Regions from separate parts of the Homo sapiens genome. Here region 1 is linked to region 2. The links are contacts of gene promoters, found by promoter capture Hi-C in blood cells and fetal thymus (Javierre and others, 2016). All regions are on one chromosome and are shown on one strand. The core of a region is centred on a gene start or on the middle of the fragment in contact, and the rest is flanking DNA. Distances in the headings are between cores, read along the strand shown. Region 1 overlaps CHD1 (chromodomain helicase DNA binding protein 1). Region 2 holds the start of RIOK2 (RIO kinase 2).

What was found. The method cuts DNA at HindIII sites, captures the fragments that hold promoters and counts their contacts. A CHiCAGO score of 5 or more calls a contact.
Region 1: a contact is called between a fragment that was not itself captured here and the fragment with the promoter of RIOK2 in region 2, in 1 of 17 cell types (naive CD4 T cells). The highest score is 6.3, in naive CD4 T cells.

What each region holds. Positions count from the first base shown.
Region 1 is chr5:98,855,509-98,859,287 of GRCh38, reverse strand. CHD1 (chromodomain helicase DNA binding protein 1) reads left to right here. Exons shown (of 36, transcript NM_001270.4): 34 at 273-324; 35 at 898-1,108; 36 at 2,563-3,779. The coding sequence ends at 2,908. Among named protein-coding and RNA genes, the nearest start is that of CHD1-DT, 71 kb to the left of the region's middle. The HindIII fragment of the contact is 664 bases long and covers 1,440-2,103 here.
Region 2 is chr5:97,180,857-97,184,496 of GRCh38, reverse strand. It overlaps RIOK2 (RIO kinase 2), which reads left to right and starts at 1,250. Exons shown (of 10, transcript NM_018343.3): 1 at 1,250-1,371. The coding sequence starts at 1,306. The HindIII fragment of the contact is 13,556 bases long and covers 1-3,640 here.

The DNA.
Region 1 (3,779 bases), core at 522-3,021, 1.7 Mb before region 2:
GAGAAGCTAGATGAAGGGAACTCAGTATTTTTGCAACCTTTCTGTTAAGTCAATTTATTTCAAAATGAAAAAATATCTTTAAGTCATGGGACAAGTAGTTCATGCTTTAAAAATGGAGATCTATAAATGTCATACATGTATATATACACACATAAACATTCTAATATCTTGTGTGAAGACTTCATTATCAGTATTTTCTAAGAATTATCTGTGCTTTTTTGTAAGTTTGTGAAGTCACCTAAAGATTCTTAACACGTGTGCATTTATTTTAGCAAAACAGTGATCAAAACAGCAACTTGAATCCTCACGTGATTAGAAATCCAGGTATGTAAGCCTTACTGATTGGGAAAATAAATTAAAAAAAATTTTTTTTAAATTTTTGTTTTAAATAAACCAAATGATAAAAAAGGTTCTTACCTTGTTTTTATTTATAAGTACCTTTATATTAAGGAGATACAGTAATTCTGATACATACCTACATTATTATGTAAAATGTATTCTCTTAAACTGTAGTTCATTTTAGTTTATTATCCTTTTAATCATCCTTTTCTCAGTTTCTAGAAATTGTAGAATGACTGTTAAAATGAACAAATATTCTTTTTTATGTAATTTGGAATAGTAATGCATTCTTTCTGTATCAGAGTCACAAAAGTATAGTCTGAGAAAGGAATAGGTCCCATATTTTTTAGTTTTTGTGACATTTCAGAATCAAGCAACCTTTTTTAATTAATCCTTAGTACTGCTTTTATACACCATTTCTAAATGCTTTAACTGCTTGTATTTGGGAACCGATTTTGTTTTGGCAAGGGTTGAAACGAATTCTTGTTATCTATCAACTAAGTTTTTTTTGCCACATTATTTTTAAGGTCATTAATAAAAGTTGTACTTATCTAACAGATGTGGAAAGATTAAAAGAGAATACAAATCACGATGATAGCAGCAGGGACAGTTATTCCTCTGATAGACACTTAACTCAGTACCATGATCATCATAAAGACCGACATCAGGGAGATTCTTACAAAAAAAGTGATTCCAGGAAAAGACCCTATTCTTCTTTTAGTAATGGTAAAGACCATCGTGATTGGGATCACTACAAGCAAGACAGCAGGTAAACTTGGCAGTCACTTTAGAAATTTTGCTTATGCATGTTTTTCTCCTTATCATGATGTTCCTGTATTTGACCTGTCAGCCAATTCAATCTTCATGCAGTCAAAACAAATCTTGTGAAATAAAGGTGTTGTATATAATTAAGAAAAATGTATATATTTTAAGAACTGAATTTCTCTATAAAATGGATTTTGAATTATAAAATTGAGATCAAAATATGTAGTAAGGTGATGTAGGGAGTTGTATGATTATAAATTGCGTGGGGTTCATTGTTCGTTTTGAAGAATATTGGCTCAAATACTCTTTAAAATATAATAAGTGGGATAAAAGCTTGATATAATAGTGATTCAGGTTTGGTTTAGGAAATTTTGCATTCCATATTTTTAAAAAGTCGGGAAAAATTAATATATGTGAACACATCTCATTGAGGTAAAACTTAACCTCAGCAATCTGGAATATTATTGGAACCAGGAAGGTTTTTTGTTTATTGTTTTTTGAAGCCTTTGAACAGTAAGCAACCTCAGTGTAATAACATCAGAATACTTTTTATTCCTTTATTGATAAAGAAGTATTTTCGGTAGTTAATGATCACTACTAAAAGTAAACTTGAAAACTGAGATTTATAGTATTTATGCTTTTATAGTAAGTAGAAGAAACAAATTAGAAGACATCTTTGTATTTTAGTGTTCATTACAATAATTTCTTTGAGAACCTCTGTCAGCACTATGAACACATCAGTTGTAGAATGGCTGTTATTTGAAGGGGTCAAATAATTAAAAGGAAAAGGCAGATTTATAGTATATATTTCACAGGCTTATGCAATATAGTTACAGTTGTGTGTGTGTCAGTTTGGAAAAGGCACTCATTTTAGAGAATAATTCTCATTAAACTGCCACATTTATTTTTTATCAAGCTGTCACATGTTTGTATGGAGTAAATTTCGTAATGATTCATGTGTCGAGTCTTACTATATAACTAGTCAAACTTGAGGAAGCTTTTAATAGGCATCAGCAACCAGTGAAAAATTTTTCAGCATAGACTGCATTCTAGCATTTTTAAACTTTTTCCTGCTTAGAGGTTGGTAAAAGGCTCTGGTCTCAGGAGTATTTCAGATAGTTGTAATAATCTTAATTTCAGCTTCCAGACAATTAAGATGCAGTCATATAAATGATGTGTAAAATAAAAAGCAGCTAATTATCTAAAATAGCCATGTGAAATTAGATGCTATTTTAGGGGTTTTGTATGGTTCGCTTTAGTTTTATGAATCAAATAGTTTTTCCAAAGAGATATATCCAGTGATTTTTGAGTTAATTAAGTAAGTTTTATAATGCAACACTGAATTTCTATACAATTAAAAACATGTTTTAAGGTATTTTTATGTTTTTTAGTTATCTTTTATTTGGAAACATTTTAATTTGCATGATTTGTCTAAAATTCTCAATTTTTCTTTATTAGATATTACAGTGACAGAGAGAAACACAGAAAACTGGATGATCACAGGAGTAGAGATCACAGGTCAAATTTGGAAGGAAGTTTAAAAGATAGATCTCATTCTGATCATCGTTCTCACTCAGATCATCGGTTACATTCAGACCACCGGTCAAGTTCTGAATATACGCACCATAAATCTTCCAGGGATTATAGGTATCACTCAGACTGGCAAATGGACCACAGAGCTTCCAGCAGTGGCCCTAGGTCACCACTAGATCAGAGATCTCCTTATGGCTCCAGATCTCCATTTGAACATTCAGTTGAACACAAAAGTACACCGGAGCATACCTGGAGTAGTCGGAAAACATAACAAAAACTGATACTTCGTCTTTCTGGACTTTTCTTTTAGCCATATATCATAAACCAACACAGTAATTGCCTTACATGACTTGAAAGATATAAACAGATCTTCTATCAGTAGCAGTATTGTTACTTCTTTCCAGGATGCAAGGTCTATTATCCCAACAGAAGAGAAAATATTTTTATATTTAAGGATTATGCTGCACTGTACTACAAAATTGTAGTACTTTTTTTTGTTTTCTTTTTTAAAGAAATGGAAAATGTTTACTATTACAGGGACCTCAACACTGCCCTCCCATACAGGCTGGATAAAACTGTTTTTAAGTCAGTGATTTTAGACTGACCTCCATTTAAATTATGTTTATATATGAACTTTACTCTGACCTGTGATCATGTTTCAGGAAGGAATGAAAGAGAGTTCTTTCTTAATAAAGAAAAACACTCAAGGACTTTGTTCATTTCCAAAGCTACTTGTTTACATTGTACACTGCGACCACCTTGCCGCTTTTCATCACAAGCTTGAATATTTAAATTCTGTACTTATATCTGTAAAATAGCCAGGAATTTCCTGTTTGTGATCTATTATGCCTTTTTACAAAAAAAATGGCTGTAAATTATTGTAAATATTAAAGGAACTTTCCTTACTTCCTTCCCTTTCTCAGGCTTTTTTTGACTGTTCCTTTCCCTACCAACTCAGGCCTTCTTATTAAAAAAAAAAAAATCAGTGTAATAACACTTTTTAATGATTTGTCTTGATGGAATCATTGTTTAGAATGTAAAAATGGGGAAAGGGGCCACTTAATTCCATTAGTCCTCTTTTTATACTGAATATTTTATTAGATACATGTTATTCCCTTTTTTTTCCTTTTTTAGTCAATATT
Region 2 (3,640 bases), core at 1-2,500:
ATACTTGTAACAAAATTTCTCACGTACCCCATAAATTTGTACAAATAAAGTTAGTCACTTGGTTTTTTTAAAAACTTTTCGCCCAGGCGCGGTGGCTTATGCCTGTAATCCCAGCACTTTGGGAGACTGAGGGGGGCGGATCACCTGAGGCCAGGAGTTTGAAACCAGTCTGGTCAACAGGGCGAAACCCCATCTCTACTAAAAATAAAAATATTAGCAGGGCGTGGTGGTGTGAGCCTATAATCCCAGCTACTTAGGAGGCTGAGGGAGAAGAATCCCTTGAACCTAGAGGGCAGAGGTTGCAGTGAGCCAAGATCGCGCCCCTGTACTTCAGTCTGGGTGACAGAGCCGGGCTCTGTCTCAAAAATAAAAAAAAAATTCATTTCTATGCCTTCTTATGTAAGTACAGAAAGAAAAATTCCGTTTAAATGGAGATGTTCATTGGTTGAAGATGGTTAATCAAAGACATGCTGCATTCAAGTAAAAAGCAGACAAAGGCTTGAATATCGAGGAGTTGCAGAGCCAGTATGGGTAACTATTCTAAAATCCTTAAATCGCTCCTGGGCCCTCGAAGTCCTACCCGCGTAGGTCAGCCCGAACTATCAAAATCCCCACTTCCTCTGGAGGTAAGGACGTCCGCCGCGCTCTCCACGTGTCACCTTAAACTCCCACCCCAACCAGCGCAGGCGCACTTCGAAGCCTCCTAGACCAACCTAAGAGAAGTACTGAGCAAGCGCATGAGTTCCATTAACCACGCCCTCCGGAGCTGCCGGAGCAGGCGCAATTAGGAGTAGAGGGCGTGCTTGTGTGATTACAGTCCACTTTACCTTTAACAGATTTGGTTGTCTGGACTCTAGCTCAGGTTCTTTTACCCCTGTCTTGTTGGAAGTCACTTTGCCTAGAGTAGAAGTTGTTTGCGGGAAAAATTTGCTCCTCCCATTAAGTAACCACTTTGCTCTCTGAGGCGGAACGTGTCATTGAGGCAGCAAGTCCTGACAGATATGGAAAAAAAAAGGCACATTGTAGAGAATATCTACACTCCGCCAACTCAGTCACAACGCAAAAATTACACAAAAATAAAACGTTCACTTGTTACATACTATGTGTTTCATAAGACATACAAGTAGTTTTATTTTCCTATATCAATGAGAACAGCACTTCTAACTATTAACAAGGACCTATACTAAGACGCAGCGCGTGCGCGAGCCATCTGGCGCTGTAAAGCGCTTAGAGGCTGGAATAACGACCTGCCTTACGCTTTGCGGCTGTCGTCGGAGAGGCATCTGGGTTCGGACTGGGGCCGCCATGGGGAAAGTGAATGTGGCCAAGTTGCGTTACATGAGCCGAGATGACTTCAGGGTCTTGACCGCGGTAAGAAACCCGCCGTTCCTGTTCTCCCTTCCCCTTAACACTGTGTGACCTCTTCCTGTTCCTGCAAGTTTTCTGGGATCTGAGCAGGCACACTCTGGGACCCGGGACGTGGCAGAAGCTGGGAATGGAGAAGAGAGCATTCAGAAAGTCGGATTTTTAAAAAGGTTTTGTTTGGGAGCTTACCTTCCCCCAGATAGAGCAAAGGTCCCGTCTTCTAATAATTGTTTTCTTTTCTGCTGCTATTCGCTTTGCGCTGAAGAGAAACGCTTGCATCTCTGTGGCCTGGAAACTTCTCTGATCCTGAGCTTCCGACCAGCTGTGAAAGGTTTAAGCCCCCCCCCCCCCCCGAGATTTGATAATATTGACTTCCCTACTAACAGACTCAGTCGCATAGCAGTCTTTCTGATTCATTCAGTCAACACATATTTGTCGGTTTTTTAGTAGCAACATTAGGAGGTTCACTTGTTCAAACAGACAAGTGGAGAGAGAGACACAGATCATCAAGTAAACGAAAAATAGGATAATGGATAAATGCTATGAAAATGATAAAGGATAATGGCATAGAAAGTATATGTATCTGGTGGAGAGGAGGGGCACAAGTTATTGGCCTTTGGTAGACAATCAATAAATATTCACTAAATGAAAGAATGAATGGGGGAATAATAGGAGCTGTGTGAGAAAGAGACAGCCCAGTGAAGTCCTTGGAAAGAGTTGGAGGCAGAGGAAACAGCAGTAGTAAGTGCAAAGGCCTTGAGACAGAAAAGTCTTTGAAGAGAGGAAAGGCCAATGTAATGTGGCTGGAGCAAAGTGAGATGCACACTAATGGTTGGAGATGTAGCGGAAAAGGTGAGAAATTATGTACTACAGAGCCTTGGAGGTTTGGTAAAGAATGTGGGGGTAACCACTAAATGTTTTTAATCAGGGGAGTAACAAAATCTGATTTTATGGCCTCAGTCTTATGGCACAGAAATTAATATATAGATCAAGACATTTGTACATTTATTTAGGAGCCGTTATCTTTTGGTAAGGAGTGAACCCCATGATAAGGACTACCTATATTGTGTAATTATGTAATAGGATATGCGATGTGAGTCACACTGGTTCTTGCATTATGTTAAGGCTTCAAGTTTTGGATTTTTAAAATTAATCTTAAATAGCGCTTAAGTATTAAACTATCAAATGCAAAATCAGTGTGAAATTTGGAAGACAATGTTTACTTTGCCTCTCATGTAGATTCTTCTAATCAGCTGGACTTTCTCTATGAAAACCTACTATCACTTCGGAAAGATACCTTCCTTTCCTGCTTTCTCAGCACACTCATTCCTTAGTGTCTCTGACAGAAGTAGGGGTCAAAAGTAAGAGTGTTAGAGGACGGGGGAGGCAGAGACAAAGCATGGAAAATAAGTTAAATTTAAAAGTTAAGGTTTTGGTGAGACATCAAAATGATGCCAGATTTATCTTCCAAAACATTGGCGCTGCAATATTTAAATTATTTGTAAAGTTCACCAAGAAATGACTTAGTCATTAAATATGACATTCCGGTCTCAGTTGAATCTCACCAGTGTTGGTACCCTTTCTTGGGCCTCTCTTCCCTTTTACTTCTTTGGCTCCTCCTATATCAATAATCATTGTTTGACTAGCTGCCCTTAGCTTTCAATATGAACTTGCCCCAGAATTCTGCTCCCAAACATTCCTTTTCTTCCATTATCTCCTGCTCAGTGATAGCATCCACTTCACATCTTCAACTCTCACTTCTATAAAATAATTGACAATTTTTCCTTCTAATTATAACTTCATTCCTAAATATAGGCCCCTTTCCTATTTAATTTTCTCTCTTTCTTTTTTTTTTTTTTTTGAGACGGAGTCTTATTCTGTTGCCAGGCTGGAGTGCAGTGGCACAATCTCAGCTCACTGCAACCTTCACCTTCTGGGTTCAAGCGATTCTCCTGCCTCAGCCTCCCAAGTAGCTGGGACTATAGGCGCACACCACCACGCCCAGCTAATTTTTGTATTTTTAGTAGAGATGGGGTTTCACCATGTTGGCCAGAATGGTCTCGATCTCTTGACCTCGTGATCCACCCACCTTGGCCTCCCAAAGTGCTGGGATTACAGGTGTGAGCCACTGCACCTGGCCTCCAGTTTTCCTTTAAACATTTTTATTTGACTCTCAGTGCTCAAACCAAATTCAATTTTTTTCTACCCCCTTTCTCTTTTCCCAAGCTCTATAAAAAAAAAAAATAATAAAATCTTAAAACTTGCTTTTCCTCAT